Linked DNA regions of Homo sapiens: all the other regions are linked to region 3. The links are contacts of gene promoters, found by promoter capture Hi-C in human tissues and cell types (Jung and others, 2019). All regions are on one chromosome and are shown on one strand. Each heading gives the region's core, a stretch centred on a gene start or on the middle of the fragment in contact. The rest is flanking DNA. Distances are from core to core; before and after follow the strand shown.

Region 1 (4,624 bases), core at 1,329-3,828, 190 kb before region 3:
TTCTGTGAGTCAGGAATCTGGGTGTGGCTTAACGGGGTTCCAGTCGCCCTGGAGGTTGCAAATGGTTAGCCATGGCTGTGACTTCAGCTGAAGGCTCAGCTTGGGAGAAGAAGGGGAAGTTTGTTTCCAAGCCTACTGGTGGGTCACTGGCAGGCCTTGGCTCCTTGCCATTGGGCCTCTCCGCAGTGCTGCAGTACCTGGCAGCACCTTCCCTGGGGGAGTGAGCCGAGAGAGTCCCCACGATGAAAGCCACAGGCTTTTTATAAAAGTGACCTTCTAAGGGACCACCTATCACTTGACTATATTGAGCTCATTGGAAGTGAGTTAATAAATCTAGCACACACTTAAGGGGAAGGGATTTCACAAGAAATGAATCATTGGAGCTGTCTTAGAAGAAGCCATTATTTTGTTGTTTGATGAGGTAATTAGAATTGGGCGGTATTTTTCAGTGAGCTTGCCAAATTTTATGTTTTGAATACAAAGATAGAGAAAGTAACCACATCATAGCTTTGCCTTCATGTTTTACTGTCCCTTCATAGTATTCCCAGTTAACTTGACCATGAAGAAATACTTAGGCTATAGTAGCTGTTAACTTAAATGGCCAGCTTTGTCTTTTTTTTTTTTTTAAACTTCTTTTTTTCTTTTTTTTTTCGAGACATAGAGTCTTGCTCCGTTGCTCAGGCTAGAGTGCAGTGGTGCAATCTTGGCTCACTGCAACCTCCGCCTCCCGGGTTCTAGCAATTCTCCTGCCTCAGCCTCCCAATTAGCTGGGATTACAGGTGCCCGCCACCACGTCCAGCTAATTTTTGTATGATTAGTAGAGACAGGGTTTCACCATTTTGGCTAGGCTGGTCTCGAACTCTTGACCTTGTGATCCGCCTGTCTCAGCCTCCCAAAGTGCTGGGATTATAGGCGTGAGCCAGGGCACTCGGCCTACCAGCTTTGTCTTATTCTATGTCCTTGGTAGAAAGGCCTGGGTAAGCTAAACGTAAAAAATAATTATAAAGCAAGCACAGAGGAGCTCATGAGCTAAGGAGCATGAAGGATGGATGGCAAGAATTTGTGATCCTGTACTCTTAAGCAGCATTAGTTTGGAACATAAAATTATGGTTATTTAGTTAGCTTTTCCCACCTTTTGCCATCTATCTGAATTGTTCTTAGGTCTTGTCTTTTAAGTAAGCTTGTTGTGGCAGCATATTGGCTTTCTGTGCCGTGTAATAAAGCACCACAGACTTAGCCGCCTAAAACCTTGTGTATTCCTGTATTTATTATATCACTGATTCCATGGGGTAGGAGTCCAGGCATGGCTTTTTGTGGGTCTCTGCTCAGGGTCTCACAAGACTGCAGTCAAGATTAAAGGCTCAGCTGAGGCTCAGGCTTCTTTTCCAAGTTTACATGATTGTTGGAAAAATTCATTTCATTGCAGCTGTAAAACTCATGATAGCTTGCTTCTTCAAGGCCAGTAAGAGAATCTCTGACCTTGGTGATGACCCCAGTCTTTCTTTTAAAGAACTCACCTGATTAGTTCAGGCCCGCTGAGAATCATGTCACTTTTGATTTGCTCAGAGTCCTTAATTGCGTCTGCAAAATCCCTACACCTTCTTTACGTACCATAACGCAATCATGGGAGTGACATCTCATTATATTCACGGGTCCTGCCTTCACTTAGGGGAGGGACGTGGGTCTTCTTAGAAATCTGCCTGTCATGGGCAGATAGCAGCCATTAATAATCCAGGTTCTACTTCCTTTTCTGTGTGTTAGGAACTGATTATCTGTGTCCCCACCCCCTGCCAAAATTCATACATTGAAGCCCTATCCCTCTTTGTGTTGGTATTTGAAAGTTGGGCCTTTGGGAGGTATTTAGGGTTAGATGAGGTTATGAGTATGTGTCCCCTCAGGATAGGATTAGTACCCTTATAAGAAGAGACATCAGAGAGCTCTCTCTAGAGCAAGCTCTTTCTAGGGCATATGAGGACACAGCAAGAAGGTGGCCTCTGTAAGCCAGGAAGAGGGCTTTCACCTATGCTCAACCATGCTGGCACCCTGATGCTGAGCTTCCAGCCCCTAGAACTATGAAAAAATAAGTTTCAATTGTCAGAGTCATCCAGTTTACGGTGCGGGTTGAGAATCCCTTATCTGAAACGCTGGGGACCAGAAGTGTTTTAGGTTTCAGATTTTGGAATATTTGCATTGAATATACCAGTTGAGCCTCCCTAATCCAAAATCCGAAATGCTCCAAAATCCAGAACTTTCTGAGTGCCAACATGACACTCAAAGGAAATGGTCAATGGAGCATTTCAGATTTTCGGGTTAGAAATGCTCAGCCTTCTGAATTACTCTAGAGTTTGGCCTGTCTTCCCCCAAGTCAACCTTGTTATTAGAATATGTTTCAAAGGGAAACTTGGGATTCCTGTGAGCTATGGTACTCTGAGAAGCTAGAGAGAATTCCTAGTAAGTCTTGCAGGCTTAGAGCCATATAAAGTATTACTCGAGCATTTATTTATTTATATTAATTTTGAGATGGAGTCTTACTCTGTCGCCCAGGTTGAAGTACAATGGCACAATCTCGGCTCACCTCGACCTCTGCTTCCTGTATTCAAGTGATTCTTCTGCCTCAGCCTCCCGAGTAGCTGGGATTACAGGCATGCGCCATGACACTTGGCTAATTTTTTTGTGTGTTTTTAGTAGAGATGGAATTTTGCCATGTTGGCCAGGCTGGTCTCAAACTCCTGACCTCAAGTGATCCACCCACCTCGACCTCCCAAAGTGCTGGTATTATAGGCATGAGCCACCATGCCTGGCCTCATTTATTTTTAAATAGCTGCAGTAATCCCGGCTTTAGATAAACCACATGAACTAATAATATCACTAGTGTTCAAAGGTAGAATTATATGTGTACCATATGTATTGCTATTAAATAAAGTCAAAAAAATTATAAGGTTTGTCTTTTCTCAGCTTGGTGACGTATTTCTTTAGCTCTAACATTAAGTATTCTCAGCCCCTCATTGTGGGTTTTTAAACTTAATTTTTAATTGTGTTCAGTATGTCTTAATAGTTTAAAAAGACAAATATTTTTACAAGGCTTCTAACAAAAAGAGTTAAATCCTGTCCCACTTCTCCCCTACTGTTTTCTACTTTAACAGTACATTAATACATTAAATTATCTTCAGTTTAAAATAACATGCTAATATTTTTTATTTCTTGATTTTTTTTTCTAGTCTTAATCTTTACTTGTAGAATTAATATGTGGAAGAAGAGAGTTTAATTCTCAGGTCCTTTATTTCCAAGAATTTTTTTTGCATTTTCTCTTAGGTAACTTCCTCTCCGTTGTTTTGCTGTTTTTTTCTGGAACTCCTGTTAATTGAACATTGGACCTCTTGACTTGATCCTCCAATTTTTAAATTTTTTTCCACCTTTTCTTCATTGCCTTAATCTTTTTCCTTCCTGAGAGATTTCCAGCATTTTCTCAACATTGTAACCCTTGTGTGAATTTTTTAAAATTTTGCCTATTTTTAATTGCAAAAGCCCCTTCATGTTCACTGGGAGCATATTTTTGTATCATGTATGCAACATTTTATCTCTGAGATAAAATTTTAATTTTTTTCTATTTCATTGTTTCTTCCCTCCCCTTCCTCCTGTTCTCCTTTCTTAGTCTCCTATTCTGCTTCCTCCTCTCCTTTCTCCCTTTTTCTTCACCCTCTCCTTCCTCTTTCTCTGCCTCCTCTTCCTTGTTCTCTGCTTTTTATGTTAGATATTTTGTTTAGGTGTCTAATCATCCCTAGCTGTCTTATTTTAGCAAGGCACAAGAAAAGGTGATTGGAAGCTCCTCTGCTTATGTAGGGTCTTTTGGTGGGTTTCACTATAGGGTAATGATAACATTTAGGGGAACCCCCATAATATCAGTATACACTATATTTTTTTCCCTCAGGATGCCCAGTTACCTTAAAGAAGTCCTTAGCCCATTTGGCCTGGGGTTTAGGGGAGGAGTGAGCAAGAAGTCTGGCCGTAGGTATTCAGGTAACCACACCATGCAAGGGGCCTGGAGTGATGTCATGCAGACTCATTTTTATGTCTCATCCTTTTTGTATTAGTTCCTTTTCACATTGCTATGAAGAACTACATGAGACTGGGGAATTTATGAAGAAAAGAGGTTTAATCGACTCACAGTCCTACAGGCTTAACAGGAAGCATGACTTGGGAGTCCCAGGAAACTTACAATCATGGGGAAGGTGAAGGGGAAACAAGACATGTCTTCTCATCATGATAGAGCAGGAAAGAGAGCCAGCAAAGGGAGAAGTGCCATGCTTTTTTTTTTTTTTTTTTTTTTGAGACGGAGTTTTGGTCTTGTTGCCCAGACTGGAGTGCAATGGCGCGATCTCAACTCACTGCAACATCTGCCACCCGGGTTCAAGCGATTCTCCTGCCTCAGCCTCCTGAGTAGCTGGGATTACAGGTGTCTGCCACCACACCCGGCTAATTTTGTATTTTTAGTAGAGACAGGGTTTCACCATGTTGGCCAAGCTGGTCTCAGACTCCTGACCTCAGGTGATCTACCTGCCTCAGCCTCCCAAAGTGCTGGGATTACAAGCGCGAGCCACCGTGCCCAGCCCCCATGCATTTTTAA
Region 2 (4,220 bases), core at 132-2,631, 230 kb before region 3:
ACCTTCTACTATGAAGATATCTATTATTCCGACACTGCTAATACTTTAGTCACCATGTATACCTATAATGTCACCGGGTTCATGCACATTCTTCTTGTCACATCAGCATACACTCTCATCTATCACTAAACTCCAGCATCACTGCTATCAATTAAGGAGTGAATTCTAGTGTGTCACTAAAGCATTAAAACGTGACTTGTGGCTGGGTGTGGTGGCTCATGCCTGTAATCCCAGCACTTTGGGAGGCCGAGGCAGGTAGATCACTTGAGGCCAGGAGTTCGAGACCAACCTAGCCAACATGGTGAAATCCTGTCTCTACTAAAAATACAAAATTTAGCTGGGCGTGGTGCCACACACCTGTAATCCCAGCTACTCAGGAGGCTAAGGCATGAGAATCTCTTGAACCCAGGAGGCGGAGGCTGCAGTGAGCCAAGATCATGCCACTACACTCCAGCCTGGGCAACAGAGAGAGACTCCATCTCAATAAAATAAAATAATTAAAAAAAAACATAACTTGTTAATGCACCCATATCATAGAAGTTGTAGCTATCCTAACTAAATAAGTGATTTCATTACTTTAGGGAGGGATGAGAAGCTTAAATTATTATTGTTTTGAAGTAAACTTTCATCTTATTGTTTAAAATCACCTATGAAAGTCCTCCTTTTGGCTTAAATTTTGTTAAATGGCAATTTTTGGCTTAGGATGACAAGTGATTTTTCTACTAAACTAATATATCCATGTGTCATTATGATTTTTATCTCAGGAGTCTTTCCAAACATTAAGAAACTCTTCTTTATGATCACCTTATATTATAATTAAAACAGTTACTGGCCGGGCACAGTGACTCACACCTGTAATCCCAGCACTTTAGGAGGCCGAGGCGGGTGGATCACCTGAGGTCAGGAGTTCAAGACCAGCCTGGGCAACATGGTGAAACTCCATCTCTACTAAAAATACAAAAATTAGCTGGGTTCAGTGGCACGTGCCTGTAATCCCAGCTACTTGGGAGGCTAAGGCAGGAGAATCGCTTGAGCCCGGGAGGCGGAGGTTGCAGTGAGCCGAGATTGTGCCATTGCACTTCAGCCTGGGCGACAGAGTGAGACTCTGTCTAAGAAAAAAAAAAACTGTTATCATTTCTTACTAGCAGAAACTTGTCCTTACCTTAGCATTTAGGTCAAATGCAATGTGTAAAGTCCCTGGATTATCCAGAAATAGATTATAAATGAAATCACTTCTCTAAAAGAGAAAAAGCAAGAAACATCTACTTTGGAGTGTACACTGCTGCAATAAGCTGATTTAATGCCAAAGTGGAGACATTTTTAGCATGCTTTCCCAACTGAGGCCAAACAGATGCCTTCTCATTTGAGGGGGTGTCACAGGGAATCGTTTGAGCAGTCATCACATATGTATGCTCAACAGAATTCAGCAAAAACAATTGGGAAATTGCAGTCTGGTAAGAAATTTATGATTAGCTCATTTCTTTAGGTATATTCATACTAGGAAAGACAGGACTGCTTGCTTGTTTTCACTGAATTTCCATTTCTCCAGCCAGAATGGTGAGCTGTAAAGATGACATTGATAATGAAAGTCCTAGAAACCATTAACCATAAACATTTATGGAGTACCTATTCTGCCCAAGGCAGTTTGCTCAGAAAATCTGAGAATCTACTGTATCAAAGATGTTTTAACAACATGCAGCAGCTATTACTACAGTCCATGCCTTGCCTAATAGCAAAGAAGACAGTCTTTACTGTGCTGACATCTGCCCTGGAAGGCATGTCTCTGAGTATGGCTGCACTCCTTAATTCTCAACTAAGGACCTCTGCATCCTGGGGAATTCAGTTAAATGGTCCAGTGTGGGGGAGAAGGAGGGCAATCCCTCAGCAAGGAGGAGTTGTGAAAGATGGAAAAGACACAGGACCTGTGGGTGACAGTCTATCTAATAAGGATCATGTACAACGGTGACACGTGCCAATCTCATTGCATGGTAGTCACATGATTCAAGAACCTTTTTGTTCCAGCTGTTCCTGACAGCTGTTCTCCTCCCTCTCGCTCAGCACGAAGTTCCTGAAGCACCCAGATGACAGCCTTATGTTCAGTGTGGTCACCTGCACTGCCTGATTATACTTGCTAAATACTAAGATGAAAATACACTTGCTCTATCTCCTGCTTTCATTTCTTCTCTCTATCTCTCAGTCTCTAACTCACATGTATTTACCCGCTTTGCAAGTTTCTGCATGTCCATGTTTTTAAATGTCCCTATAAGCAACACTTTCCTAATTCATTTACTGTATCAAAGAAAATATCTCCTCCAGTACCTTCATCCCCATTAAGCCTTGGAGCTAAGTACTCCAGAAATATCATCCATTACTTTTTCCTTGAAAGTCATGCAAAAAAATTATGACATTTATATATAAAGATGGTTTTTTTCAATCTAAAGATGTTGAAAAATCTCCACAGTAGGAAACTATTACTACAGACTGCATATGAATGCCTGTATCCCATGAGATTCTACCACCGAGTCTCCCGAGATGGTGTATTGAAAGCCCCTTTTAACCTGAACTCTTCATTTGGATTGCATTTGCAGGAAGCTTGTAAATGCTGTATATAGGGAATATTTGTTGACTGATGGAATCAATTTAAATGCAAGTCGTGAGTTTTAAGAAAATTAAAGCAGCTTTATATAGAAGTGAAGTTAAGGCAAACTCCATGGCTTGCTGTGAAGTGGAATTAGAGTGCAGGCACAGATACCAAAATCTATATTCTTCACTCCTGGCACTGGCTGGTAACAACAAAAAAATCCTGAAAGGGATCTGCTGGAGACAGGATTGGCGAGAGCAGGGGAAAAGACAAACGGCACTGCTTCAGCTGGAGCACAGAGGACAGGACCCGTTCAGGAGCCAGAGGAGGAGATGGAAAGCAACCCACAGAAGCCATGAGGCCCTGGGGGCTCTGGTAGGACACAGCAAAGAAATGCAGGTGGATGGTTCCCTCTATTGGTGAAAAAATTGCAGATCATATTAGTTGCATCATTGATTTCTGGGAAACAATGAAGAAAATATCGGCAAAGGTAATATCTGAGGATACCAAGGTAAGGTGGGGAAATCTCATTTGCAATTTTAGGAAAGGAATCCAGTTTGGTGGTCTGGAGCATTTGTAATAGCAAGCCAGAGTCACATGGAAGCCCAGGAGCTCGCTTAATAACTTATTTTTATATTTATTTATTTATTTGTTTGTTTTGAGCCAGAGTTTTGCTCTTGTTGCCTAGGCTGGAGTACAATGGCGTGATCTTGGCTCACTGCAACCTCTGCCTCCCAGGTTCAAGTGATTCTCCTGCCTCAGCCTCTCAAGTAGCTGGGATTACAGGCACCCACCACCAGGCCCGGCAAACTTTTTTTGTATTTTTAGTAGAGACAGGGTTTCACCATGTTGGCCAGGCTGGTCTCGAACTCCTGACCTCAGGTGATCCATCTGTCTCGGCCTCCCAAAGTGCTGGGATTACAGGCGTGAGCCACTGCGTCCAGCCTTAATAACTTATTTTTAGGACAAAATGTATGTGTAGATTTTATTATATGCAGAAACACAATTACATTAAATCTAGCTCTTTGTTTCATAGTAAATTAGAGCTTAGCACAAATACTATTCCTCCTGTATAAATGATTTATTTAGCTAAACAAATTACATTGTAATTCTCCTCAGTTTAAAAATGTAGAGCTTATGGGTTTTCAAAAGGTTCAGGGGAAACATACTAAGTTTCAAAGCCTAAAACTGTTAACATTCCTCCCTTATTCTTACTTTATCATGATATGCTATGCTGCAGATGTTTCTCAGAGACATTCAGTGAAAATCTAAGTCTCTCTGTTCATCATTTTTAATAGCCATGTGAGTTCAAGTCTTCAAGAATGGTTGAAAGGGGACAAATAAGGAACTCTCTTTTCTTAAATTAAAAACAAGAAAGTCTTCACCAACTTAAGCATCTGGGAAGCTATAAACTGAGAGTAATAAAAATTGATTAACCTTAACTGGAGAAAACTCCCACAGACCTTGAAATATTTTTGTGTAGGAGATAAATAATACAGCTGACTAATGATCTCACAAGTGCAAATATAGAAGACGAACTGGAGACATCTACAGGATCTTCCTTGTTCGGAACACTGCTCAGGTCTTTGTTCTTTGATGGAAATCTACATTTACGAGCCACCAGATCTGGCCTGTCAAA
Region 3 (4,718 bases), core at 1,766-4,265:
GGTCAACATGGTGAAATCCTGTCTCTACTAAAAATACAAAAATTAGCCTGGCATGGTGGTGCGTGCCTGTAATCCCAGCTACATGGGAGGCTAAGGCAGGATAATCGCTTGAACCCGGAAGGCGGAGCTTGCAGTGAGCCAAGACTGCGCCATTGCACTCCAGCCTTGTGACAGAGCGAGACTCTGCCTCAAAAAAAAAAAAAAAAAAATAAATAAATAAATAAATAAATAAATGTCAGAGAATTTCTCTGGGAAAATGGCATTGGAACAAAGACAAAAAAACAACCACCAGTGCGCTCCTTGTCTTTCGAGCTATCTCCCTTCCTGAAGTGATCTACCTAATTTCAATAACACTTATCAGTTACTTAAGTCATATATTTCCAATTAAGAAAGTATCATATATGAGCATGAACACAGCTTGATTATTCTTGCTAATGTATGTCTTCGCGGAGTAAATTCTCTACTAATATGTTCCTTGCTCTTTAGCAAATCAGAATTTCCGTTCAAATCTTGAATGTCTTTTTACCAGGACTCATAACTTAGCTTTCAAGTAGAAAGCCTTTATTTTTCTTCTTTCAGTAAAAAAAAAAAAAAAAATATATATATATATATATATATCATGCCAAGTTGTTTTTGTTGATGGAATAACATATATTATTTTATTCAAATACTGCTGTTATAAAATTATATTCCAAATTACCTTTTAAAATATATGGGGATTTGGCCACATGTTGCCCTTGGAATTTAATTTCCACCTTCAGATTTTTGTAGCTTGCATACATTCTGTATCTTACTATGAAGGACCCATCTTTTCGGTCTAAAACCTGGACTCCAACTCTAGTGAATTGCTCCTCTGGTGCTGAGACTTTCACCTGGAAGACCTTTTCGCCTGGAGAAGATGTGAATCTGTGATGAAAAGGCAATGGGGGAGATAAACAGATTTTAACGAACAAACACACAAAGGTTATGCTCTTCAGTCTGGAAACTTGATTATTCTCCTCCACATTCTTCCTCTAACATATGATTGCTTCTTCTTCTCTTATGCTTTTAGTACCAGAATGAATATGATGGATCAGAGATTTAAAAAAATGAGGATGACAATGGCCAAGATAACATGAAACAGTTTCATTAAACAGTCACAATGGAGTATGTTAAGACTATTAATCTATATAAGCACAGAACATACTCATGCATTCCATATGGAAAAATATTCTTACTAACTTATTTCATGCTATCACATCTGGATATTTGTGATCAAATGATGCTCCCAAAGATAATGATCTTATTTTGAAAAATCTCTGCCAATGAATCTTTACAATATCAGTATTATAAATCACGCTCAGGCCTGGCACTGTGGCCCATGCCTACTATCTCAACATCTTGGGAGGCCAAGGAGGGAAGACTGCTTGAGGCCAGGAGTTCGAGATCAGCCTGGGCAACAAGGTGAGATCCTGTCTCTACAAATAATAATAATAATAATAAAAAACAAATAGCCAGGCGAGGTGGCACACGCCTGTAGTCCCAACTACTAGGGAGGCTGAGGTGGGAGGATAGCTTCAGCCTGGGAGGTTGAGGGTACAGTGAGCTGTGATTGCACCACTGCACTCCAGACTAGGCTAGGAAGTGAAACCCTGTCTTAAAAAAAAAAAACTCACGCTCAGCCATGGGCAAAAGCAAAGTAGTAGGTAGTGTATCATCTTTTGCCAAATAACAAAATTTACAACCTGCCTTTTACTTGACAACCTTTTATTCCAGTATTTTTTTCTGTATGAAATACACACAGTCAGCATCCACCAATAATAGAGACAATCATTTCAGAAGTATAGGAATTATAAAAATAAGTTTTAAGTATGATGTTAAAGTATTAAATTCATTGGAACAAAATATTTGTTACAATCATATAGGAGATTAATACTTCGATACTTTCCTTCCGAACTCTGAAGTTTCAAATAGTACTTCATTTTTCTTTTTCAGTTTCAAAACATGCTTACCTGCAGATGTCTCCTTGAAAATTGAGGGCCGCACCAGAGAAAGATGAAGCCCATCAAGTCTCTAACAACTAGGTTTAAATCCCTTATAATAGCTTATGCGAAAAGTAGTTAGAAACAGTATTTCCAGCAAAGTGGAGGGACTTTGTCTTGCCCTGATAATGTGGGAATCTGAATCAAAATTGCTAGGAGATTATTTTATATGTTATATACAATACATTATATTGCATATATTATAATTCGGAACAATTTCTACAGCTACAGAGAAAAATGGGTAACCAAATATCCTGGAATATAAACTGCTGTGGAGAAACGAGTTCTTGGAAAGAAAAATCTTAAAGGGAGAAACAGATTTAACCGCCATCCAAAATAGGTAAGGAGCCGTTTCTCGACTTACTTATTCCCTGATGTATCCACTGCCTGAATATAGAAATAGCGGGCGGGAAGGACGACGTCTGCTTTTAGCCCGGGTCCCCATATTTCGCTCTTCTCCGGGCTCAGCTGCCTTTCTCCGCCGGTCTCGGCGAGTGCTGGAACTGTCGCCAGAAAGAAGCAATAAAGTAGCAAAGTGCCAAACATTTACAAGACGGACTCTCGAAATGATCCACCGATAAATGAAGAAGTGTAAGAGGTGGACAGAAGCAGCCGAGCCTTCGGCAGGGACCCGCCGGCCGATCGCAGCAGCCAACGCGACTGCAAAGGTTGCCGCCCGGCGTGCAGGGCAGGCGCGCGGGTCTCCGCGACCCCAGGACAATCAAAGCCCGTGCCCCGGCGCGCCCAGGTGAGGGTCCCCTGGCGTTCTGCTGTCCCGGCCGAGAACCGCGCTGCTCCTCTCTCTCAGGACAATGATGAACTTGAGTTGCTCCTGCCACTGGAGCATCATTTGGGAGCGAATCCGTCTCAGGTTCCAGCCAAGGTGTAGGGCGAGGGGATTGGCCCGTGCGTCGGGCCAGGCTCAGTAACGCCTTCTCCAAGTGGATGGCGGGGTGGACACGCGTCCCGGCGCCCCGGGCTCCCTGGGATATGTAGTTCGCGACAGGACGAGCGGAAATACTGCCAGGATTTTACCACCTCTCGCCCATTTATTTACTTCTCGGTCACCGCTTTCGGGGGACAGATAAACACCACAGATGCCCATCAAAGGGGCGCACGGGTCTGGAGGCGCAGCTCAGGTTTTTGCGTTGGTCACCCTGCCCTCCGCACGTGGAGAGGGCAGGCATAAAGCACCTTGAAAGGAAGGTGCTGTCAATGCTATCCGACGACCTGTCGCCGGGCACCGCAGCATCCTCGCTCGCTCCGATGGGACGAGGGACGCCGGCCCCAGGGTAACAGGAGGCGCCTCGCCGGCCGCGCGCTGGATGCTGTGATCCAGGTCCGGAGCCGGGTTCCGCCGCGGCCGCAGCGACCCGACCCCACCCGACAGGCCAGAGGTACCCCGGGGCGGGGGGCAGGGGCCGAGGTGGCGGCCGGCTGTGCGCTCTGAGCGCCTGGCCCTCCGCTGGGCACCTGGGCGCCGCCAGCCCGGCCTGCTGCCGCTCTACGCGCAGCCACCTGGGCATTCAAAATTTTTACTTAATTCGATACCGGCCTGGGCTGCCAGGGGTCATCGCCTCTCCGAGCCCCGTGGCGTCCAGATGGAGGCCACTGCATGGGTGCGCGCTCTCCCGGGAAGGAGTAGGGGGAAGAGCTGTGTCGCGGGGGGAAGAGAAGCGCCAGGGAAAGAAGGGCCTAGCCCTCTGGTGAACAAAGCTCGATTAGGAGGTGTCCATGTGGATACCGGTGACCCCTGTGCGGCCGTCGGTCTCCACGCCACGCTGGGCAGGGTCCGGGAACCAGCGCGCAGCGGCCGTCGCCTTCCCCTGCACGCCAGCACCCGGGTCTGGGCCGCCGCCAGGAGTCACGGGCTCACCGCCCTGGTCAGCTTGGCAGTCGGACCCGGAGCCGCCTCCTCTGCCTGCCTCCCTCTTGCCAGCTGCCCCGAAAACCCAGAAGAGCCGGTGGCTCCGAGCCAAGGCGGGCCTGGTTCGGCGCCAGGAAAGGGGGTTTCTTTCCTATTTTCTTTTGTGCAATTGTCATTATTAATGATACCGACTCGTTTACTCAAACAGTCGAATCGGAGCCCCAGCTCTTAGCCCGGATGCAGCAATTGCCCGTGGGCCCCCTTTAACACCAACAGCGTCCCCGGGGCCCGGGGCAAGCATGTTCGAGGCGGTCACCCCCGGGCCTCGGCGCGCTCCCCCTGGCGGAGAGCCTCGTCTTCCGGCCGGTGAGGGAAGGTAGAGGAGGGAGTAGGGGCGAGGAGGCCTCGGCGGCCCTTGGGCTCTGCGGGCTGGGGACTCGGGGTGCCCGCGACACGCGCGGAGGCGCGGGCTGGGTTGGCCACGGGCAGGGAGCGCAGCCGCGCTCCTTCCTCTCTGCCCGCGTCGCCTCCGCGCGCACTGGTTCTGCGCGGCGGGGCTTGGCCTGCGCGACTGTCTACTCCGTCCCGGCGGCCTCGGAGCCCGGCCGAGCGGCGAGCTTGTCAGAGGACGGTGGTGGAAACGCTCCCGGCCTCCCCAGGGGCGCGGGCTGGAGGCTGGCGCCAGGCGCGGAGGACTCCCGGTATCTTTTGACAGGCTGGCGCCTCGGCTCTGGGGACCCGCAGGTCTGAAGGGGAGGAAGGGGCCTGGAGGGCGCGGGAGGACACCGGGTGGGAAGGGTGGCATTAGCTCGGCCGGGGGCTATGCGCCT

The links. The method cuts DNA at HindIII sites, captures the fragments that hold promoters and counts their contacts. A contact is called where the count stands out against the background at its distance.
Region 1: a fragment that was not itself captured here is called in contact with the fragment with the promoter of BIVM in region 3 in 1 of the 25 tissues and cell types used here (H1 embryonic stem cells).
Region 2: a contact is called between a fragment that was not itself captured here and the fragment with the promoter of BIVM in region 3, in 3 of the 25 tissues and cell types used here (adrenal gland, bladder and spleen).

What each region holds. Positions count from the first base shown.
Region 1 is chr13:102,605,088-102,609,711 of GRCh38, forward strand. All of the region lies in intron 2 of TPP2 (tripeptidyl peptidase 2), which reads left to right. Among named protein-coding and RNA genes, the nearest start is that of TPP2, 10 kb to the left of the region's middle. The HindIII fragment of the contact is 4,936 bases long and covers 111-4,624 here.
Region 2 is chr13:102,568,304-102,572,523 of GRCh38, forward strand. No RefSeq gene overlaps it. Among named protein-coding and RNA genes, the nearest start is that of TPP2, 27 kb to the right of the region's middle. The HindIII fragment of the contact is 4,812 bases long and covers 1-3,787 here.
Region 3 is chr13:102,796,104-102,800,821 of GRCh38, forward strand. BIVM (basic, immunoglobulin-like variable motif containing) reads left to right here and starts at 3,016. Exons shown (of 11, transcript NM_017693.4): 1 at 3,016-3,418. POGLUT2 (protein O-glucosyltransferase 2) reads right to left here and starts at 2,873. Exons shown (of 10, transcript NM_024089.3): 1 at 2,386-2,873; 2 at 701-906. The coding sequence starts at 2,567. RefSeq lists an enhancer at 3,023-3,242 and silencers at 3,303-3,572, 4,133-4,182, 4,213-4,642. The HindIII fragment of the contact is 13,413 bases long and covers 1-4,718 here.